Linked DNA regions of Homo sapiens: regions 2, 3 and 4 are each linked to region 1. Evidence: promoter capture Hi-C in 16 types of primary human blood cells and fetal thymus (Javierre and others, 2016). All regions are on one chromosome and are shown on one strand. The core of a region is centred on a gene start or on the middle of the fragment in contact, and the rest is flanking DNA. Distances in the headings are between cores, read along the strand shown. Region 1 holds the start of TOMM7 (translocase of outer mitochondrial membrane 7). Region 2 holds the start of MALSU1 (mitochondrial assembly of ribosomal large subunit 1). Region 3 has its middle 12 kb from the start of STEAP1B-AS1. Region 4 overlaps LOC105375186 (a long non-coding RNA gene).

What was found. The method cuts DNA at HindIII sites, captures the fragments that hold promoters and counts their contacts. A CHiCAGO score of 5 or more calls a contact.
Region 2: the fragment with the promoter of MALSU1 here is called in contact with the fragment with the promoter of TOMM7 in region 1 in 7 of 17 cell types (total CD4 T cells, neutrophils, total CD8 T cells and 4 more); the score reaches 9.5 in total CD4 T cells.
Region 3: a contact is called between a fragment that was not itself captured here and the fragment with the promoter of TOMM7 in region 1, in 8 of 17 cell types (endothelial precursors, total B cells, naive B cells and 5 more). The highest score is 7.8, in endothelial precursors.
Region 4: a fragment that was not itself captured here is called in contact with the fragment with the promoter of TOMM7 in region 1 in 3 of 17 cell types (neutrophils, naive CD8 T cells and monocytes); the score reaches 6.4 in neutrophils.

Annotation. Positions count from the first base shown.
Region 1 is chr7:22,819,981-22,825,900 of GRCh38, forward strand. TOMM7 (translocase of outer mitochondrial membrane 7) reads right to left here and starts at 2,869. Exons shown (of 3, transcript NM_019059.5): 1 at 2,697-2,869. The coding sequence starts at 2,799. LOC112267993 (a long non-coding RNA gene) reads left to right here and starts at 2,977. Exons shown (of 3, transcript XR_002956543.2): 1 at 2,977-3,719. RefSeq lists enhancers at 2,350-3,110, 2,780-2,859, 2,890-3,099. The HindIII fragment of the contact is 22,456 bases long and covers 631-5,920 here.
Region 2 is chr7:23,297,035-23,302,954 of GRCh38, forward strand. It overlaps MALSU1 (mitochondrial assembly of ribosomal large subunit 1), which reads left to right and starts at 2,305. Exons shown (of 4, transcript NM_138446.2): 1 at 2,305-2,574; 2 at 3,805-3,983. The coding sequence starts at 2,319. RefSeq lists an enhancer at 2,122-2,611. The HindIII fragment of the contact is 9,022 bases long and covers 476-5,920 here.
Region 3 is chr7:22,548,673-22,554,592 of GRCh38, forward strand. No RefSeq gene overlaps it. Among named protein-coding and RNA genes, the nearest start is that of STEAP1B-AS1, 12 kb to the right of the region's middle. The HindIII fragment of the contact is 5,185 bases long and covers 1-4,867 here.
Region 4 is chr7:23,085,962-23,091,881 of GRCh38, forward strand. The region is part of intron 1 of LOC105375186 (a long non-coding RNA gene); the gene reads right to left. Among named protein-coding and RNA genes, the nearest start is that of KLHL7-DT, 17 kb to the right of the region's middle. The HindIII fragment of the contact is 3,684 bases long and covers 1,511-5,194 here.

The DNA.
Region 1 (5,920 bases), core at 1,619-4,118:
TACACACAAAGTTAAATCCGCAGTTGCTGGTTTTAGTGAGAGTTGAGGTGGAGGAAGTAAAAGAACAACCTGGAGCCAGGTGTGGTGGCCCATTCCTATAATCCCAGCACTTTGGGAGGCCAAGATCGAAGATCACTTGAAACCAGAAGTTCAAGACCACCAGCCTGGGTAACACAGCAAGACCCTGTCTCTATTTCAACATGGGAACTGGTTTAGACATAAAATTAAATATACAGTATAAAGGAAAAGACAATGATAGACAAGTACTGGAAAGACAACCTTAACACCAATCTCATATAACTTGAATTGAATGTTGGGGTGAAAATCACCGTAACGGTAGTCCTAGGAAGGGAATATAGCCAGTGTGCATAAAATGAAAGATAAACTCTAGTATGGAAAAGGAATGCATTATCCACTCTTACACGAAGCCCCTGGCATGCAGATTGCAGCAACCAGCTACAGCTTTCTAGCAATAGAAACGGAATCTCAAAACAGGGAGGAGGAGGGAACAGTAGATGAAAAGACTTACAGAGAAGCAAAAAACCAAAGGGACACAAAAAGCAAGAGCACGCTAAAATAGGACCTCGTACACGCAGTGAAAAAAGGTGGCACAAAGAAGGGGAAGAATCAAGCTTCCACACCTCTCTTAGCTAAAAGGGGAGCTAGTCCCAGTGTTTGACCAGCCAGAGTAGGCCCTTCTATCAGTAAGTGAAAGAAGTGGGTGTGGGGGGAGGTGCTGCAAGAATAGTGGGGACAACACCAACTGTCATATTTACTCTAATCCTTGGTACCCATACAAAGTCACTAAAATCTAGAAAAGTAATGTTTTTTTAAAAAATTGCACCCAGAATAAGGGAGAAAAACGTCTTTTTAAGTTCTATAATCCCAGGTTATCAGTTGGCTTGCAACTCATGGAGAAATAGAAACCACAGCTGCTTAGTCAGAGTGTACTTTATCTTATACAATGCATGACACCTAAATTAAATAGGAAGCAGCACCTTGTTAAAACCATAGCATTTTAAAATGTGAAACTGAGTTTTACAATTGTCAAACTATATGCTCAAACTGACACAGCTGGGATGAAAAACCTGCTCTTTCCCTTTCACCGAACTGCCTGAGTGGGGCAGTAAAATTAAAAAGAAAAAACTTGGCCAGGCACGGTGGCTCACGCCTGTAATCCCAGCACTTTGGGAGGCCGAGGCGGGCGGATCACGAGGTCAGGAGATCGAGACCATCCTGGCTAACACGGTGAAACCCCGTTTCTAGTAAAAATACAAAATATTAGCCCGGCATGGTGGCGGGCGCTGTAGTCCCAGCTGTGCGGGAGGCTGAGGCAGGAGAATGGCGAGAACCCGGGAGGCGGAGCTTGCAGTGAGCTGAGATCGCGCCACTGCACTCCAGCCTGGGCGAGGCAGACCCCGTCTCAAAAAAAAAAAAAAAAAAGAAAAAGAAAAAACTACAGCCTGGCCGCGGTGATTCACACTTGTAATCCCAGCACTTTGGGAGGCCGCGCGCGGGGCGGAGGCCGGCTGGAGGGGAGGTAGCTAACTTGAGGCCAGGAGTTTGAGGCCAGCCTGGCCCACATAAGCAAAACCCCGTCTCTACTAAAAATATAAACATTAGCCGCGAGCGGTGGCTGCAAGTCTGTAATCACAGCTACTCGGGAGGCTAAGGGGGAAGGATCGCTTGATCCCGAGAGGCAGAGATTGCGGTGGGCAGAGATCGCGCCACTACACTCCAGCCTGGGCACACAGCGACTGTCTCAAAAAGGAAAAAAGGAAAAAAAAAGACAGAAAAGAAAAGAAAAAACTACAGAATAGGTCCCAGTCTGCAACCCTAACTGAAAAATATTAACAAATCCTTGCAGTAAGTGACCGAGCCTGTTGGCACCAGCCTGTAGTCCCAGCTACTTGGGAGACTGAGGTGGAAGGATCGCTAGAGCACAGGAGGGGAAGGTTGCAATGAGCCGGGATAGCGCCACTGCACTCCAGTCTGGGTGACAGAGCGAGACTCTGTCTTAAAAACAAAAACCAAAAAAACCCCAAATCCTTTAAGTGCGCTATAATGGTTAAGACTATGGGCTCTGATGCCCCACTGCCTGAGCCCCTAACTCCCTCAGTCAGCATAGCTGTGCGACCTTGGCAAAAAAGTTTCTCTACGGCTGTTTCCTCACCTGTAAAATGGGGGCAGTAATAGAAATCATCCAAACCCTTCATCGTACAGGTAAGAAAGCAGAGGCATCCAACGACTATTATTATAATCATGCTTTCATGGCAGTGGTACTTTCACGAGGTGTCTCGATTCCCTGAACAGGACTCTTTCCACTTAGGACCACATGGAGCGGTGAGGAAAAACACCCCGAGAACCACCTAGTGCTAGAGAGTGAATTAGTGACTTTCACATCCACTGGGGTCATCCAACCCTCCCTACAATCCCGAGAAATATGACCTCCACTTTAAGGATGCAAAAATAGAAAAGGAGGGATTGCAAGACTGCTTAAAGACCATGCAACTATAAAGCGATAGAACGGGAACTCGAACTCAGGTTAGATCGGCCCCACTTGACCAGACAGCCTCAGGGGCCGTGCACGGCAGTGTCCCCTATTTTTCTCTCCCTCCCCCGACGGCCAAAAATGGGGCTGCTGTCTCCGCCACCCTCTTCCCTCCAGTCACTTTCCCGGTTCTTCTCCCACTGACCCAGGTAAATCACAAGAGGGATAAAGCCCCAGCGAATGGCAAACTGGCTCCCCTTGAAGAGCTGCTGTAGTCTCTGCTTGGCCTCTTTGCTCAGCTTCACCATGGCGACGGCCGTGTGGCGCAGGGAGGACCCCTTACAGCAACCACAGCGTCGGGAATCCGAAAGGGAAAGGAGGTGCGCAGGCGCCACACACGGCCTTTACGGCAGGAGTCGTGAGCGTCGCCAGCAGAGGTCGTAATTCATCGCCTTTAACCTTCCCTGCTCTTCCGCCTCGCCGGCAGTAGTAGGCGCATGCGTGGTTGCGATCATGGCTGGCGGTAACTTCGCGTTTCTGTTACCCATTTTTAAAACGCATCTTCAGGTGTTCCTTCCTTCTCATGGAAGGAACATTAATTAAATTCAGAGGGACTGGGTTTTAGTCCTAACTCTTATTCCTACTGGCTGTGTAACCGTGGACAAATTATTTAACTTCTCAGAATCAGGTTGTTCAAACCTGAGGTTGAACTGCAAAAAGGTTACGAAGTGACACTCAGTAGGGCCCGAATCCATGTTTTCTTTGATCCCAATCTTTTTTAAAAAAATTTCTTTTAATTACTTGCCAACATTTTAGAATTTGGAAATCTCACATGAAATTCTGGACTTTTGAAGCTGAGGAATTCCATTGCAACAATCAAGGAGACTAAATAGGAAATGACACTTCTGTTTGGCCATCTTGCCCTCATTGGTTTAGAATGGCAGTGGTTCTCAACCCTGGCTGCACATTAGAATCACTTTAGGAGAGGTAAAACCATACTCACGCTGGAGACCTACTCCTAGAAATTCTAAAGAGTTTGGGGCTGGGAACTGGCCATTGATCTGCCTTTGAAGTTTCCCAAGTGATTCCCAACCTCTGATGTAATAAATTTCTGGCTGCTGTCGTATTTGAGATTTGACCCCCCCAGGTCTAAGACTTAATTGATTTTTAAGGCTGTAAGACATTTCTAAGACTTTGACTTTTAAGACTTTCCTGCCTCATTCTGAAGGTACGTAGTCGTTTTCTGTGCCCAATGTCTGTGCTCCTAAAAATTTCCCCTTGCTGACCTCTGTGGCTTGCGCCTGTAATTCTGGCTATTTGGGAGGCTGAGGCGGGAGGACCACTTGAGTTTGATGCTGCAGTGAGCTGTGATTGGGTCACTTGCTGTAAGCTCCCAAAGGGTTCACTTTGCCCGCTGCCTGGACAGAGCCGATTGATCAACACTGGGGAATTACAATAAAGAGTAATTCACGCAGAGCTGGCTGTGCAGGAGACCAGAGTTTTATTATTACTCAAATCAGTATCCCATAGCATTCGGGGATCAGAGTTTTTAAGGACAATTTGGTGCGTGGGGAGACAGCCAGTAAGTCGGAAGTGCTGATTGGTTGGGTCAGAGATGAAATCACAGGGAGTGGAAGCTGTCTTGTACTGCCTCAGTTCCTGGGTCGGGGCCACAAGATCAGATGAGCCAGTTTGCCGATCTGGGTGGTGCCAGCTGATCCATTTTGCAGGCTCTGCAAAGTATCTCAAGCACTGATGTTAGGCTTTACAATAGTGTTATTCCCAGGAGCAATTTGGGAAGGGTCAGAATCTTAGTTCCTGGGTTGGGACCACAAGATCAGATGAGCCAGTTTACCTATCTGGGTGGTTCCAGCTGATCCATTTTGCAGGGTCTGCAAAATATCTCAAACACTGATGTTAGGCTTTACAATAGAGTTGTTATCCCCAGGAGCAATTTGGGGAGGGTCAGAATCTTGTAGCCTCCAGCTGCATGACTCCTAAACCATAATGTCTAATCTTTTCGCTAATCTGTTAGCCTGTATACCAAACCTGCACATGCACTCCCTGAAACTAAAGTAAAAGTTGGAAAGAGCAAAAAAAAAAAAAGAAATAGTTTATGTTTTGGTGGAGCTCAGATAACAACAGCAAGGGACAATATAATGACTAAAAGCACAAACCAACTGTGTGATCTTTGATCAATTATTTAATATCTCTGAATCTCAGTTTCCTTACCTGTAAAATGAAGCCAACTATATATATTTAAATCCTTACAAAATTAGTAAAATAAGCTATAATGCACTGCAATCTTACAAATTCCTGTAAGGATTAAAAGAATTTTTTTAGGCAAGAAGGGGATTTGTTTAGGGAAAGGGCTGTTATCATCTTTGTTTTAAGCTATAAACTAAAAGTTCTTTCCAAAGTTAGTTCAGCCTATGCCCAGGAGTGAACAAGGACAGCTTGGAGGTTAGAAGCAAGATGGAGTTGGTGATGTCAGATGTCTTTCGCCGTCTCAGTTATAATTTTACAGTGGCAGTTTCATCACTACAATCCAGCCTGGGCAACAGAGTGAGACCACATCTTTAAAAACAAGAAAAAAAAATTCACCTCATATTATAGTGTTCTTCTGCTAGGCTCATCATCATGAATAATAACAACCTGTGTCTACTATGCCTGTCACTGTGTTAAGTGCTGAAAAATAGTTCTTTTTTTTTTTTTTTTTTTTGAGATGGAGTCTTGGAATGTCACCCAGGCTGGAGTGCAGTGGCACGATCTCGGTTCACTGCAAGCTCCGCCTCCCAGGTTCACGCTATTCTCCTGCCTCAGCTTCCCAAGTAGCTGGGACTACAGGCGCCTGCCACCATGCCCAGCTAATTTTTTGTACTTTTTTTTTTTTTTTAAGTAGAGATGAGGGTTTCACCGTGTTAGCCAGGATGGTCTTGATCTCCTGACCTCGTGATCTGCCCGCCTCGGCCTCTCAAAGTGCTGGGATTACAGGCGTTAGCCACCGCACCCGGCTGAATAATTGTTCTTTTAATCCTTACAGGAATTTGTAAGATTGCACTGCATTATAGCTTATTTTACTAATTCTTGTAAGGATATATATGGTTTCATTTCACAGATAAGGAAACTGAGATTCAGAGATATTAAATAATTGATAAAAGATCACACAGTTGGTTGCTCTTAGTCATTATATTGTCCCTTGCTGTTATCTGAGCTCCTCCAAAACAGAAGCTATTTCTTTTTTTTTTTTTTCTTTCAAACTTTTACTGTAGTTTCAGGGAGTGCATGTGCAGGTTTGGTATATGGGTAAATTGCATGTTGTGGGGGTTTGGTGCATAGATTATTTTCTCACCCAGGCAATAAGCATAGTACCTGATAGGTAGTTTTTGGATCCTCACCCTCTTCCCACCCTCAAGTAGGTCCCCATGT
Region 2 (5,920 bases), core at 1,055-3,554, 480 kb after region 1:
TCATGCAGTCAAACATAAATGTTAAAGACATTTATGAACAAAGGGATGAGGGGTTTCTGAGGGGCCATCTGAGAGAGTAGGGGGAGATATCTTAATGCTTAAGGTATGTCTTACAGAGTGAGTCTGAGTTTGTCATATGAAAAAATGGGAAAAGGGTGCTCTAAAAAGAGTAGTGGCCAAGCACGGTGGCTCACACCCGTAATCCCAACACTTTGGGAGGCTGAGGCGGGTGGATCACTTGAGGTCAGGAGTTTGAGACCAGCCTGGCCAACATGGTGAAACCCCGTCTCTACTAAAAATACAAAAATTAGCTGGGGGTGGTGGCACGTGCCTGTAATCCCAGCTATTTGGGAGGCCGAGGCAGGAGAATTGCTTGAACCCTGGAGGCAAAGGTTGTGGTGAACCGAGATGGTGCCACTGCACTCCAGTCTGGGTGACAGAGCGAGACTCCATCTCAAAAAAAAAGTATATGCAAAGCTTGGCATTGAAAGGATATGGTGAGGTTGCCAGGCATGGTGGCTTATGCCTATACTCACAGCTACAGTGGGGTAGATTGCTTAAGGCCAGGAGTTTGAAACCAGCCTGGGCAACATAGTGAGATCCTGTCTTTAAAAAAATTAAAAACAAAAATTAGCTGGCCATGGTTCCACATGCCTGTAGTCCTAGCTAATTGGGAGGCTAAGGCAGGAGCACCGCTTGAGCCCAGGAGTTTGAGGATGTAGTTAGCTATGATTGTGTGACTGTACTCCAGTCTGGGTGACAAGAGTAAGACCCCATCTCTTTAAAAAATAAAAATAAAAAAGGGTATGGTGAGTTTGAAAAACAGCAAAAAGCAGATAAAGCGAAAATGATTGTAGTTGATAGAAGGGCAGCATGGAGGATGAAAAGAGTAGAAACAGACTGGAGACAGGAAAGCCAGGTAGGAGGCAGTCTCTGTAATTAGGCAAGAACTAATGAGGGTGTGGACTAAGGAAGAAACAGTGGAAATGAAGACAAGAAGCTGAACTCACAGAAACATTTTGGAGGTCACATAAGCAGGATTTTGACAACAGATTCGTTTGTTGTATGAAGATCCTGGACTGAATGAAGTCTAGGGTTTGGGAGTTTTGAAGGGATAATGACCCATTAAATGAGCTGGCAAATACAGGTGGTAAAGCAGGTCTGGGATGTTCAGAGAAGGGTGGGAACACGGAATGGATGCCAGAAGCTGGGAGAAAAGCCAAGTTCATGCCTGTGGAAAAATGGAATTGAGGATGGGGCTAAAATTGGACAGAGGAAACTTAATCTGTAATGTTTTTCTTCTTTTCAAAAATAACTTGAAGTGGTTGTACATATCTGGTGTGATATACACAAATGCTTAATTTCTCTATTTTTAAAAAACTTCCCAAAATTAGTGCTTGGAATTATTTAAAATAATGTAGCAAACATTTTTGGAGTGCCTGCTATGTGTCTGGCACTGTTTCAGGCATTTGAAATATTTGCTCTCTATGAAGCCTTCCTTTCAGCAGTTAGCAGGCCTGGAGTTCAGAAGCCAGAAACTGGCTTCTGATTCTGACGCAGTCAGTAAGTGTATGACCTGGGCAAGTTGCTTCCCTGCGGCGTCCCACGCCCCCAAAACCCCCCACCCCCCCACCCGTGCCAGGAATCTATCGCAGTTCTCAAGTCCTGTGACTTAATACCGCAGCTGGCACCTCAGAATTCCTTATTCTTACAGAGCTGGTCCCCACAGTACCGCCCCTGGGCGTAAACTCCTCCATACAGGGAGTGTAGATGATGGGCTGACCTAAGAACGGTTTCCAAATGGTCCTTTACACCTCTGCCTCCCACCCCACTCTAGCCCAGGATAACAGATTTTCCTCGCGCAATTTCAAATTTGCAAGGGAATCTTGAATATTTTCTGGTAATGAGAGAGGGTAGATTATATGTCCTAATCCCAGCCTAATCAGATTAACAGCAACTTCTGGACATTCAGTACCAGGAACTGTTTTAGGTGCTGTGGAGAGAAGAGTTAAAAATGAAACAAAAATTATTGCCTTCATGAGCCTCACATTAGTGGACAGAGTCCAAAAAAAAAGTGACAACGTAATGCGCTACTGCGACACAAAGCAAAGCAAGGTGGGCAAGCAACACTAGTTCTTTATTCCCGCACGCCCTAATCCCCAAGTAGCTCTTCCGGGTCACTGCAGTCTTCACGGGCTCCAGACTCCGCCCATGGTCCGTCCTTCAGGCCTTGACTCCGCCCACGCATCGACGTAGAATTTCCCGGCCGGGCTCCATGAAGTACCACCCACCCGCGACGCCGACGCAAGGCTGCTGCTATGGGGCCGGGCGGCCGTGTGGCGCGGCTGCTCGCCCCACTAATGTGGCGCAGGGCGGTTTCCTCGGTGGCGGGGTCCGCGGTTGGAGCCGAGCCCGGGCTTCGGCTGCTGGCCGTGCAGCGGCTTCCCGTAGGAGCAGCGTTCTGCCGGGCTTGCCAGACCCCAAACTTTGTCCGCGGCCTGCACAGCGAGCCTGGGCTGGAGGAGCGGGCGGAGGGGACGGTCAACGAGGGACGCCCAGAATCGGACGCGGCAGGTACGGGCGTGGAGAAGAACGAAGGCGACCCTCTCCGGGCAGTCTGGAGTCAGGTCCCAGCCAAGGTGGCTCTGGGTTCCCCTCTATGTGCATTTCTCTTGGAGTCACAAAACTCCTGCACATCCAGAGCTGGAAGGGACTTCAAAGGTTGTTGGCGCCAACCTTCCCGTTTCACAGTGAAGAAATTGAGGGCAAGAGATGAACTGCAGAATCCCAGCCTCCCGGACGGCCATCTCCCACCCTTGGCATCACAGTCTCACCGTCCTCACTTCCTTTTACCCTCTTCCTAGGATCCTGGGAAATGGGTTTGTGGGGACTGTTGGGGCTTGAGGATTCTGAGGAGCCAGGGTCTGGGTGCGAAGGGGTGCGTAGGAAGCGCCAGTAGGAGATGGGTCCAAGTTAATATCCTCTAGTTATTGCTGACGTTTTTAGAAACTTAAGAATGGTAAACAGATCACATCTAAGAATGTAGAGTATGAGAGGGAGAGGCCTTAGTGGGCTTAGCTACTAGGTCCTTTGGAGTCGGCTTTAGAACTTGGGCGAGCTTTTAAATTTACAGCCTGTAATACTCCAAGCTGAAGATCAGAATATCTAAATCTTTACGGGAAAAAAAATTAGATTTTCATAGGTAACAGTTGTTAATAACCCGGTGGTTTTATATGAAAACTGGAAGGTTCAAAATAATAATTACTCAAAAATGTAGCTCTTTCAGTGACTGATCTTAGGCCACAGTAATTCTCCTAGGCCTCAGTTTCTTCATCTCTCAACTGAAGGTTGTGGACCAGATACTGCCTAAGAGCCCTTCCAGCTCACAATTCTGTGACCCGTTATGACTGAGATTCAATTTAATATGCTCCAGGATATCACCTCCTACCCATTTTGTGGTGCTGTTTTTCTTTGCACAGCATTTCTGTGATTGTGGTGTATTGCTCCTTTTAAGTATTAGTAGAAAGTCATTTGTCACTGGTGTCTGGTTCTACTTGCATATGGTTAATAGCGAAGGATGTATAGTGGCTCTGCGTAATCTGAGCACCCTGACCATAAAAGTTGAGCGGTGCTATGATACTACTGCCCAGGTTCACCTTCCAGGAGGCCTTTACCCTGCTATCTGTAAAAACACTTTGGATCTAAACACCCTCATGGAGGAACAGTCAGCTGCCGGCATCTCTGGGTGCATACACGTCTATCTGCTTGGCCATCCTGATACAAACAACTATTTGTGCATTTCAGATCATACTGGTCCCAAGTTTGACATCGATATGATGGTTTCACTTCTGAGGCAAGAAAATGCAAGAGACATTTGTGTGATCCAGGTTCCTCCAGAAATGAGATATACAGATTACTTTGTGATTGTTAGTGGAACTTCTACCCGACACTTACATGCCATGGCCTTCTACGTTGTGAAAATGGTAGGATGCTTTCTTTTCTCTTTTGGACCATTAACTGAGTGGAATAGTGACAGTGCATCAGGCCAAGGAGCAACACTTAGAGGGTAAACCCATCATACAAAGTTACAGAAGAAGCCCAAATTTTCAGAATTTGCATGAATTCATTTTATGTTCTTTGATAGTGAAACATATGGGAGCAAATATCCAGCCCTATTGAGTTAGGATATATCAAAATCTTTTCTCTTGTGACCGCAAGGAAGATTTTTTTTTTTTTTCTAATTGAGATGGAGTTTTGCTCTTGTTGCCCAGGCTGGAGTGCAATGGCGCGATCTCTGCTCACCGCAACCTCCGCCTCCCGGGTTTAAGTGATTCTCCTGCCTCATCCTCCTGAGTAGCTGGGATTACAGGCATGCGCCACCAGGCCCAGATAATTTTGTATTTTTAGTAGAGACGGGTTTCTCCATGTTGGTCAGGCTGGTCTCAAACTCCTGACCTCAGGGGATCCGCCTGCCTCAGCCTCCTAAAGTGCTAGGATTACTGGCATGAGCCACCTCACCCGGCCGGAAAATAATATTTTATAACCTGAGGCAAGCTAGAAGACAGTATAACCAGAGGGATTTCTAGAGGCACTATCCATTACGGTAGCCACTAGCTACATGTGCCTATTTAATTATAAATTAAAATATAAATTCAGCCGGGCGTGGTGGCTCAAGCCTGTAATCCCAGCACTTTGGAAGGCCAAGGTGGGTGGATCACAAGGTCAAAAGATCAAGACCATCCTGGCCAACATGGTGAAATGCCGTCTTTACTAAAAATACAAAAATTAGCTGGGCATGGTGGCGTGTGCCTGTAATTCCAGCTACTCGGGAGGCTGAGGCAGGAGAATGGCTTGAACCTGGGAGGCGGAGGTTGCAGTGAGCTGAGATTGTGCCACTGCACTCCAGCCTGGTGACAGAGCCAGACTCTGTCTCAAAAAAAAAAAAAAAGATATAAATTCAGTTCTGCAGTTATATTAGCTATATTTCAAATGCTCAATAGCCACGTGTGGCTAATGGCTACCATATGGGACAGCCATAAAGCATTTTCATCATTGTAAAACGTTCTATTGGACAGTGCTGGCCTGGAGTTTCATTCAAAGATTTGAGCATGTCCAGTGTTCCCAAGCACTGTACGGGGTATTGGGAAGGTAAGAACAAAAAAGATGTAGTCCTTGCCCTTACAGGTCTAGTTGAGGAAAGAAAGGGGGATTGTTTTCCAGTTGCACTGAATATGAATCAGAATGAGGAAGAAAGTACTTGGAAGCCTCTAGCTGACTCTGGTACCATTCCACGGGGCCATGATACCTTTCTTAGTCTTAGTCTGTTGAGAATTGGTCATAGAGGAGGCAGTTAAGACCAAAAGAGTAGCCAAAATTGTATAGAGAAAGGTTGTAAAATAAAAAGGTGGGGCCTATACACAAAACCCTGGTACATGACAGAGCAGAAGAAGATGCCAAAAACAGGGTAATTGGAGAGATAGGGAGAGAACTAGGAAAGCATAAAGAAGAGATATACAAAGACAGCATACCAGGGTCTCTATCAGATGTAATAGTGGGATGGAGTCAGAAGACTTAGTGACCATTGGACTTGCGGATGTAAAAAGAATGGGAGGTTTTACAGAGAAGTTTCTGTGAAAGAATAAAGAAATAGAAATTGCCTTTACAAAGATTTTAGATGAGAGAAATGCAAAGGCAAGAAAGTTTTGTTGTTTGTGGTAAAATATATATAACGTAAAACCTACCGTTTAATCTTTTTTTTGGAGACAAGAGTCTCGCTCTGTCGCCCAGGCTGGAGTGCAGTGGCTCGATCTCAGCTCACTGCAGTCTCCGCCTCCCGAGTTCAAGTGATTCTCCGGCCTAAGCCTCCTGAGTAGGTGGGATTATAGGCACCCACCACCACGCTTGGCTGATTTTTCTATTT
Region 3 (5,920 bases), core at 1,025-3,524, 270 kb before region 1:
CTTTAAATAGTGTGACTGTCAGATTCATTACTTAAAACACAATTCAAAACTCTTTTTTTAAAGAGCTAAATAGGCCGGGTGTGGTGGCTCATGCCTGTAATCCCAGCACTTTGGGAGGCCAAGGTGGGTGGATCACGAGGTCGGGAGATCGAGACCATCCTGGCTAAAACAGTGAAACCCCGTCTCTACTAAAAATACAAAAAAATTAGCCGGGCATGGTGGCGGGTGCCTGTAGTCCCAGCTACTCTGGAGGCTGAGGCAGGAGAATGGCGTGAGAACCCGGGAGGCGGAGCTTGCAGTGAGCCGAGATCGCACCACTGCACTCCAGCCTGGGCGACAGAGCAAGACTCTGTCTCAAAAAAAAAAAAAAAAAAAAAAGAAAGAAAGAAAGAAAAAGGAGCTAAATAAATTATGGCACATCAAAACAATGAAATAAGAAATGGAGCAAATCTTTTCCTCACCCCACCCCAAATCTGAGCATGGGGTGCTTGTTAAAACACGAACCAACAAGCCTCACACCAGTTTCTGATTCAACTGGTCTGGAATGGCGCTTAAGAATGCGCATGTCCAACGAGTTCCCTGGAGATGCTGGTGTAGTTGGCCTGGCCACCACACTTAAAGAGCCTTTGCTCTAAAGGCATGCGGTAACCCTCTCTGTATTGATGTAGAAAGATTTCCCAAGACACAGTACCTTAAAGGAACAAAGGGAAGACTGATAGGTTGGTCTCATTTGCTTATGTAGACAAACTTATTCATGCTTGGGAAATGGCTGGAAGGAAATGCGAGGTTGAAAATGATTTTCCTGGGCAGTGGGCAAGGAGTGAGACTGGCCTATGTTGAATACCCGTTTAAACTGCTTCAGTGTACCACCTGCCTATGTTTGCCTTAAAAGAATAAAATAATGATGTCTCAAATTCAAAATTCGTAAAAGAGATGGTTGAATCTGGCACTGCCCAAATATGTCTATCGAATACCTCCTCCTTGTGGAGCCTGGTACCAAGCACAGCCTCAAACTATCTCGACGGTCAGGCCCCTTTCCCAGGTGGTGCCGTGGTGGCCGTGGGGTGAGGAAAATATGTACGGCTGTAGCCCGTCCATTTCTCATCCTGGGATAGCGAGGGGTTTCCGGAGGAGGCGTCAGCGGTGGGAAGTGGGAGAAAGCGAGCAAAAGGGGCGGGGGCGAAGGAGCGGACTCGCCTGCTGCCGCGGGGGCGGGAATCCGCAAGCCAGCCTGGGAGAAGGGACAGAACAGCGGCTGATCCTTCCCTGGGCTAGGGAAGGAAAATAAACTGTGCTGGCCTCGGAGTGGGGGATGGAGAGGGGCGATGGCGCTGCATCTGCAGGACGTTGCAAGGGCTAGGAGCGGGCAAGACTAGTGTCGGCAGGAAGGTAGTGGTGGTGATGGCGGGGGTGTGTGGCAAACAGAGCCCGAGCGAAAGCCTGAGAAGGTTCTGGTTGCCCCCCAGCCTACTTTAGTCCCTAACCCTCCAGCGGGGCGAGGAGGGAGCGCATCGGAGAGGTACCTGTGCGATGGGCAGCGGTGCTTGGCACCTGAGCGTAGGTACGATACTCAGCAAGGCACCTGGGTGGGACATAGGAGAAGGAAATCTCCACCCCAACCCCCCAAAACACCGCCCAGAAGTGGGCGGTGAGGCCCAGTGCCGCAGCCCCAGGGAAATGGCAGTGACACAGGTGGCAGCCACCTTCAGAGCGCCAGGCCCCCGCCAGCACATCTGCAGGTAGCAGCTTTGGCCACAGGAAGGCGCATCTGCACTGCCGGGTTCGCAAAAGCGGGGCGTGTGGGCTGAATTCCCACTTTCAGCAGCGGGAGAGGCTGGAAGAGACTGGGTTCCTGCCACTTGGAATTCAAGCCCTGGACTGTGGTGGGGTCTTGGTTTGATAGCCTGATTTTGGTCGCTATTTTTGCCGGCTGACACTTTATCCTCCACCCCTCTTTTTTTGTTGATGGGATTATTGACATAGAATAAAATTTTCCAAGGTTAAGTGTACAGTTTGAGAAATTTTGGTAATTGTATCGAATCATTTAACTGCCATCATAAACAACATGGAACAGTTCTATCATCCTAAAAGTTCCCTCCTACCTCACTGTTCTTCACATCTGCTGTGACCACACAGCCCCAGGCAACTCCTCGGCTGCTTTCTGTTACTAGGTTTCCCTTTTCCAGAAAGTTTTCCAAATGGAATCAGTCTTTTTAAATCTGGCATCATTCACTTAGTATAATGTTTTGATATTCAGCCACGTTGTTGTGTGTCTTCTGTCTTGTTCCAGGGTATGGAGATACCACAAGTTGTTTATCCATTCACAAATTGGTGGACATTTGCGTTGTTTCCAGTTTTTGAATTTTACGTATAAAGTTGCTATGAACAATTTTATACATTTTTGTACACACAGGTTTTTATTTGTCTTTGGTAAACACCTAAGGAGTGGGAATGCTGGGGCATGTGGTAAATGTCTGGTTAACTTCATGAGGTACTGCCAGACTGTTTTCCAAAAGGGCTAACCCTTTTACATTCCCACCAGTAATGTAGAAGAGTTCCAGTTTCTCTGCATCACTTGCTATCTCCAGTCTCTTTAACCCTAGCTGCTCTAGTGGACATGTCTGACCATCACTTTTGATTTTACCCCATCAGGTCCAGGGTCTAGAGAAACCCCCTTGCAGAATGCTCCCGCCACACTGCTTCAAAAGCACGAAGGGTGCTGAGTAGTCGGCGAGTGTCAGAAGGCTCTGTGGCTGCAACCTTCCTTTCAGGCCTCCCAAGGATGCTGAGCAGCTGCTACTGTAGAACAAAGTTCTAATACACAGATGAGAGGGAGTGTTCTTATTGAGAGAGAAGTGAGAATGAATACCAGCAATACCCTCAAAAACTTCTGAATGCATTGGATATTTTTATAGCCAGCGGACAGTTGTCAGTTAATTGTGGCCTCAGCCTTGCAGAGACCCATCTGGAAATATCTTTAAATGGATAAACCTCAAATTACTTTCATCATGCCAAATGCATACTTCTATAGCTCATCATATGTACATAGTGAAAGAAGAAAGCCAAGCATGAATGATAGGCTAAACACATCTCTAAAAACATCATAGTGGGGGCGTAAGCACCGAGTTCTCCAGAGGGTCCTGAAAGATGCTGTTGACAAAATACCAGAGCACAGCAGTCCTATTCTAAGTAACACAGAACAGCCTTCTCACTGAAGCAGCGATGCGGAGTCTGGAGCCTTCTACCACATCCTGCTCTCATTCAGATGGGTAGGCTGCCATCTGCAAGAGCCAGCAGATCTGGAACCAGTGCAGGGAGATGGTGGGGGATGCGGGGAGTTTCTGGTCTCAGATAATGAGAGCGTATTAGTTTGCTAGGACTGCCTAGCAACAAAGTACCACAGACCAGGTGGTTTAACCAATAGAAATTTATGGTCCCACAGTTCTAGAGGTTAGGGGTTTCAGATCAAAGTCTCTGCAGGTTTGTTTCCTTGAGGGCTGTGAGGGAGAATCTGTTCCAAGCCTCTGTCTTGGCTTCTCACGGTTTGCTAGCAATCTTTGGTGTTCCTTGGTGTAGATGCATCAGCCCTATCTGTTTTGCATGGCGTTCTCCCTGTGTGCATGGCTGTCTCCAAATTTCCCCTTTATATGAAGACACCAGTCATATCAGAGTAGGGACCCTCCCTACTCCAGTGTGACCTCATCTTAACTAATTAAATCTGCAAAGACTATTCCAAATAAGGTCACATTCTGAGGTATTGGGAATTTGGGGGAGACCCAATTCAACCTGCAACAGAGGGTCTGGATATCTTTAAATCAGTTCCTGACTTTACCTCTTCCCAAAAATAACATGGGTGCTAATGAGGTACCCATTGGGCTGGATAAATCCTGGACTCAGAGAATCATCACAGAACCCACATGTCTGACTCCAAGAGGAAATGCACCAGCATGACCAGGAATTGCCAGCAATACTCTGCTGTAAGCATGTGGGTGGCCTGGGCATGGGGTAAGCTCCTGGGTTCTGCTAGGGCTAAACATGCTGCTTCATCCCCACACTCTTCACTCTGCCCCAGGACACCCTGGATGCAGCAGGGGAAACTTAGGCAAGGCTGGCAGCAGCACCCACCCCTAAATTTTGCTTCCACGAGCTCTAAGCCAGTGTACAGGTGCAGCAACTTGGAATCCCCTGGAGAACCACCTGCAGATTCTTAGTCTTCCTCATCTCCTTTCACCACCACTCCAGACTTCCCATTTGTCTCCCTGAGTGACTGCCATGGCCCCCTAAAGTTCCCCTCATTGCCATCCTTGATCCATTATAGTTTATCCTCAACACAGTAGCCTTGGTGATTCTCTTGAACATAATAGAAATTGTGTCAGGATGGGGACCGGGTTAAGCTACTCATGGGAAGGCTAAAACATGTGGTTCACACATATCCCTCCCTAGGACTCTGATGCACTGGATTCAGGGTGGCAAACTCAGGTAAAGCTGCTCTGAATCATTCAGAGTTCATGCCGGAGTGCCAACAAGGCCACCAGACTTGGAAATGGCCCAGTGTTTCCTCTCTGGCCACATCTCCTACAGCTTTTCCCTGGGTCACTCTAATCAGTCACTCTGGTGTCCTCACTGCTCCTAGAATGAGCTATCCCCCTCCCTACCGCAGAGCCTCTACCCAGGTATCTGTGAGGCTTGCTCCCCGCTCCTTTGAGACCTTGTTTCAAGATCACCTTCTCAGTCAGGCCTACTCTCACGGCCTCATTGAAAATTGCACCTGCTCCCAATCCCCATCACTGTGCTCAGTTTTTCCCATAACATTTTTCACCTTTTAACCTGATATCCTTATTCCGTCCTTCCCTGACACTAGAATGGAAGCTTCATGAGGGTGAAGAATTTTTGTTTTGTTCTTGGATATATGCTTAGGGCTAGACCATTGCTTGGCATAGAGTACATATTCAGTTTATGTTTGTTGGACAAATAAGTTTTGAAATAGACACATTCCCGGGCCGCATCCCAGATGTGTGGCATGGAAATTGCAGCACCAAAAGTGCAGTAATCTGCATTGCTGCAAAGCCCCCACTGTGTTTCTTGGGTTCACCAAAATTTGAGAACAAAAGTTTGAGTCCGAGGGGTGATGGAGCTACCCAGCCTCAGCCCCATGTCTCTGAAAAGCACAGAGAAGGGGGAAAACGAACCAGGCAGGATGACCTCCTGAGAGCATCTGATCTTCACTACCAGTCCCAGGTCTTAGATTTCCTTAGATTCAGGATGGGTTAAGATGACCTCAACCCACATGGCTAAGCTCCCAGCTGATGGGCCCCCTGCCCCTGAGCTCCGGGTTCTAAGGGAGATAAGGTTCCCAAGCCATAGGCAGATGAGGTGGATTGACAATCGGTTTACAAGGTGGGTGTATTAGTCTGTTTTCATGCTGCTATAAAGACATATTGGAGACTGGGTAATATATAAAGAAAGGAGGTTTAACTGACGCACAGTTCACATGGCAGGAGAAGCCTAGGAAATCTATAATCATGGCAAAAGGAGAAGGAGAAGGAGAAGCAAGTACCTTCTTTACTAGGTGGCAGGAGAGAGGAGCGGGCACAGGGGAAACTGCCACTTATAAACCATCAGATCTCATGAGAACTCCCTTCACTATCATGAGAACAGCATGGGGGAAACTGCTCCCATGATCCAATCACCTCCCACCAGGTCCCTCCCTGACACATCGGGATTACAATACGAGATGGGATTTGGGTGGGAACAAACAGCCAAACCATATCAGTAAGTGAGAGGTCACAGCCAACTATTCGGTCAACTACGCAGCCATGGAATTAGGCTCACTGGATCAAATTGAGTGGGAAAATCCCCTGCTTTTAGCTATTATCTAGGACATTTAGAAAGTCTCACAGTGGTGAAGGCAAAGAACTGA
Region 4 (5,920 bases), core at 2,103-4,602, 270 kb after region 1:
TACAGGTGAGAGTTAATTTCTCAAACTCATCTATGAATTTTCCTGGATCTTCAGAGAAATGACCAAACTTATCTTTACATAGAGCCAAATCAGACATAGAAAAGGAAACATACTCTCACAGTGCTCTGGTTCAAATGCCTCTGACACCAGGGCTTCAGAAGGTCACTGGGTGTCTTACTCAACAGTGCATGAGCAGCAGGTTCTGGAGTTACAGCATGGGAGTAGCTCTGTGGAACCCTTTAGCCCCAAGGGGGCGCACTGAGTTTGGTGTTTGCCAAGAGGAAAATAATAGCTAGAAGAACAGACACCTGGACATGTTTCAGCACCCCTGGGGCTTTTTGGAAATACTTGGGAAGGAAAACTCAGAAAAAAAAAAAAAAAAAAAAAAAAAAAAAAAAAAAAAAAAAAAAAAAAAGACGGACTTCCTGCAGTCAAGCATGCACGCTAAATTGGATAGTAAAAGGACCTGTGACTGGTAAGGGTCATATAAGGACATGTTTTTTCCAGGTCACTCTGAATACTTCTTTGCCTCCACTGGATCTGTTTCTTCCTTGGGCTCTGATTTCATAATCTGCTTTTGCTCATTTGTTTTATTTTCCTTGGAGACCTCATCCTGCATCTTCAATGACTTACTGGACATTTTTATATGTACATTATCTCCAACTCAGTTTGTCTGAAATCTACCTCAACCAAAAATCCTTACAAGTCAATAAGAAAAAAAAATCCAAAAGAAAAATGAACAAAAATATAAACAGGCAATTCACAGAAGAAAAAATACAAATAGTCAATAAATGTATGAAAACATGCCTAATCTCATTAAGAATTTTAAAAATAACAAGGAGGTGGGAGGATTGCTTGAGACCAGGAGTTCGAGACCAGCCTGGGCAATATAGTGAGACCCTGTCTCTACAAAAACAACAAAAAAAGAAAAATTAGCTGGGCATGGCAGTGCACACCTCTAGTCCTAGCTACTCAGGAGGCTGAGGCAGGAGGATTGCTCGAGCCCAGAAGATAGTTAGCTATAATTGTGGCACTGTACTCCTGGTGACATAGTGAGACACTGTCTCAAAAATAATAACACTGAAAAGTCTTTTTTTTTTGTATGTCATATTGATAAAGATTTCCAAAACCTAGGATTCCATTGTCATTTTATATATATATATAAAGCTCCTTTTAAAAAGTGATCCCAGCCGAGCGCAGTGCTCAAGCCTGTAATCCCAGCACTTTGGGAGCCCAAGGCAGGTGAATCACAAGGTTGGGAGTTCGAGACCAGCCTGGCCAACATGGTGAAACCCCGTCTCTACTAAAAATACAAAAATTAGCTGGGCGTGGTGGCACACCATCTGTAGTCCCAGCTACTCGGGAGGCTGAGGCAGGAGAATTGTTTAAACTCAGGAGGCGGAAGTTGCAGTGAGCCGATGTTGTGCCACTGCACTCCAGCCTGGCAACAGAGTAAGACTCTGTCTCAAACAAACAAACAAACAAACAAAAAGTGATCCCAATATCTCCAAGCTTGTTACCAGCTTAAATCTGTTAAATCTTTAGGTGCTTTTAAAAGTACTAAGGCAGTTCAAATAACATTTATTGCTCAAATGTACAAAAGCCTCCATGGCCTCATAGTTGTTTTTTAAAAAACAATTTTATTGAGGTATAATGGACATAAAATAAACTGCATATATTTAAAATGTACAATTAGATAATTTTTGCGCCCGTTAAATCATCACCACAATCAAGATCATGAACATATCCGTATCCCAAAATGCTTTCTCTATCCTTTTTTGTTTTTGAGAGAGAAAGTCTCACTCTATTGCCTAGGCTGAAGTGCAGTGGCACAATCTCGGCTCACTGCAACCTCTGCCTCCCGAGTCCAGGTAATTCTCATGCTTCAGACTCCCAAGTAGCTAGGATTACAGGCAAGCACCACCACGCCTGGCTAATTTTTGTACATTTAGTAGAAATGGGTTTTCACCATGTTGGCTAGGCTGGTCTCTAACTCCTGGCCTCAAGTGATCCACCTGCCTCGGCCTCCTAAAGTGCTGGGATTACAGGTGTGAGCCACTGCACCTGGCTTCATACATCTTTTTAATCCTATCTTCTTATTCCTCCTTTTCTTAAACCCATGTCCCAGGCAACCACTGATTGCTTTCTGTCACTAAATATTAGTTTGCATCTTCTAGAACTTTCTATAAATGTGTACATTTATAGAATGATACAATGTGTACTTTTTGTCTATATTATTCTACTCAGCATAATTATCTTGATATTTATGCATTTGTTGTATGTTCATTCCTTCTTATTGCTGCAGAATATTCCATTATATGGATACAGTCCTTTTTTAAATCCCTTTGCCTACTAATGGATAGTGGGTTGTTTTCAGTTTTTGGGTATTATAAATAAATCTGTTTGAACATTTACATACAGGTCTTTGTAAAGACGTATGCTTTCATTTCTTTTGGGTCAATACCTAGGAGTGGAGTAGCTAATTCATATCGGAGGCATATTGTTAGGAAACTGCCAAACTGCTTTCCAAAGTAGTTGTACATTTTGCATTCCCACTTGGCAGTGTATGAGAGCTCCAGTGCTTCCATATTTTCACCACCACTTGATATGGTCAACTGTTTTAAGTTTAGATATTCTTTCAGGTGTAAAGTGGCATCTTACTGTGGTTTTAATTTGTATTCCCCTGATAAATAAAAATGTTGAGCATCTTTTCATGTGATTTTTTCCTACCTATGTATATTCTTTGGAGAATTATCTCCTCAAATCTTTGGCCCATATTTTCCCCAAATGGTTTTTTTTTTCTTACTGAGTTGAGAGTTCATTATATGTTCTGGATACAAGACTTTTATCAGTATGTGATTTGGAAATATTTTCTCCCACACTGTAGTTCGTCCTTTCGTCCTCTTAACAGTGCCTTTTGAAGAGCAGATGTTCTTAATTTTCACAAATCCCAAATTATCAGCACCAAGCTCAGAGGGGCATGTGAAGGTAAAGGGAGACTATATAGAGAAAATACGTAACACAGTGATTGGCGCACAGTAAGTGCTCACTAAATGGTAGTTTTTGTCTATTTTACTGAAGGAAAACATGGCTTAAATACTTAAAACTAATTATCAGCTTAAATCCCTCATTTTCTTACTTTATATGATTGTGAGCCTTGCGGGCAGGAATTGGGGATCAAGGCAATTTTCTGGGGCTCTTTCCATATGTGAACATTCACAGCCATGGGTAATTCTCTTTTGTTGGCAATGATAAAATTCTATTTGCTAGACAAAAGCATATACTAAATAATTTCAAAGCATTTTATTTTAAGAGATATAATCTAACAGAAATAGTGACAACCATTTAACATTAATCTAAATAAAATTGAAATAAAAAAGCAGACCAAACTTGTGTTTTCCGTTATTGGTTGTTATGATGAATGTAAATGAATTATTTCTAGGAGGGAAATCACTCAGTGTCAATTGTATTTATCAAGAAACATTCACTCCTATTCAAGTTATTCTTTTATGTCACATCAAACTCCTATTATCTTTTATCACAGTCATTTTCTGACAGTTATATGTGATAAAGCTATGGTAGCTGGTGAAATAGATAAAACAAAACAAAAAGGTAGTAAAATGGGCCGGGCATGGTGGCTCACGCCTGTAATCCCAGCACTTTGGGAGGCTGAGGTGGGCGGATCACGAGGTCAGGAGATCGAGACCATCCTGGCTAACACGGTGAAACCCCATCTCTACTAAAAATACAAAAGAATTAGCTGGGTGTGGTGGCGGGCGCCTATAGTCTCAGCTACTCGGGAGGCTGAGGCAGGAGAATGGCATGAACCCGGGAGGCGGAGCTTGCAGTGAGTCGAGATCATGCCACTGCACTCCAGCCTGGGCGACAGAGCAAGACTCCGTCTCAAAAAAAAAAAAAAAAAAAAAATAGTAAAATGGACAGAGTAGGAAGCATTATATATTACCCTTGAGTCCTGAAGAATAAAGAGAATGTTTATTCCCCAGTCATGCCAGGGCAAAAAAGAGTAATGACAATTTGTTTTCACTGAGAAGGGAGGCATTGCTGAACAATATGTGCCAATTTGGGTGCTAAACGGTATTAATAGTTTAGAGTTGAGTTTTGAGAATCCTACTACTAACCCACTGCCCTACCAGGCAGGGTACCCAAGTATAAAAGCCACCCGTAGACGTGAGAAGCAAGAGTCAGAAGGGAGAAAATACCATTTTATGAACAGCTAGAGAAGCACTCACAGCCCCTCAAGGCAGAACTCTGGCAGAGCCAGAGTGGAGAATGCAACTCGGCAGACAGCCTCCCACCCTGGCCAGCACCCCCTAAATCAGAAATGGCCGTGTCAGAGGGGCAGAGCTCAGCCTGACTTACACATCAAATTGCAGGCTGGAAGAAGCTCAAATAAATAGACCTGCCCAACAGATACAAGCCCTGCCTGGGCATTTTTCAACTTCATAGAATTAGATAATGAGTGATGAGTGTGGGTGCCGTTCTTTAAATGCATAGTGACTCTACCCACTAGTAAAATGGTACCCAATGACTATTAGGCTCTGACCAATTAGATTAGCAGCTACTCCTTCCTTGGGGCAGAGCTATTTCGAGAGGTAAAAGGAGTGGATGTCTGGGAAAGAAGCAAAATGTTTTGGCTGGTTAAGTGAGAGTAGGCAGACATGCTCCTCTTTCCCCCCATCCACGTTCCCCATCCCCTCCCCCATAAGGAGCACCTTTTGACATGAGCAGAAATATTGAAGCTGTGACACTTGGTGGAGAAAAGAGTAGTTAGTGTCCCAGTGGACTAAAAATTAGAACCTGAAATTTAATCATGCTTCAACCACATGCAAAGTGACTTTGGAAAAATGGCTTAGCCTTTCTATGATTATATTCCCATCCTTAAAAGAGAAACACATGTAAAATATCATAAGAAATAATAAATATGCAAATATCCTATGAAAAATAAAATAATATAAAATATAAGGAAGATTGTTTCTGATGGAGCAGATATATAATACGTAGGAGAAAATGTTAATTTCTGATCTGAGAAAAAAGAAGAGACAAGAAATAAGCAACTACTGGACCATGCAGTTTGAGACTGATAAAACTGGGATATTCCCAAGTACAAATTTTTAAAAAGGAAATAACTGGGAAATAATTTAGATTCTGGACTATAAACAATGTCAGAATCATAAGCTTAAAGTGACATAAGGATGGTGATGTTCGTTTTTAGAGTGGTAACACTTTGAATATTCCTAGTTTCCATGTTTATTGCCCTTTTTTTTTTGCTAATCATTCATTTGTTTTGGTTTTTGTATATAAATTAAATTTAATATAGATAAACTTAATATTATATAATTAGATGATTAGATATGCAAAATGCATAATAACCATGTACCTAGCATCTTGCTTAAGAAAAACAAAACAAAAATAAAACACACATTACCCAAAGTGTCGAAGCTTCAAGTGAACTCAACCTAAAATTCACCCATCTCCCTTCCTCACGTAGCTAACCATTATACTAATTTGGTGTTTATCATTCACATACTTTTTAAAAAATAATACTTTTACTACCGATGTGTCAATTTCTAAACAATACATTGGTTTACTATTTCTTACACTTCAACACCATTTTAATGGCTTCATAATGGTGCATCTTTATGCATCTTACTTTCTTTCCTCTATATTATGTTACTGAATCTATGTTTATTCCTATGGCTCTAACTCATTTTTTACTGCAATATAATTATGGTACAGTGTGCCTTCTTTATTATTTTCCTATAAGTGGACATTTAGATTGTTTACAACCAAAAAATACTGCCATGAATGTGCTATTCCCATATATCTCTCCTTGTAGATATGCCCAGTCTAGGTGTGAAGTTGCTTAGGGAGTATGCATTGTCAGCTTTACTAGATTTCG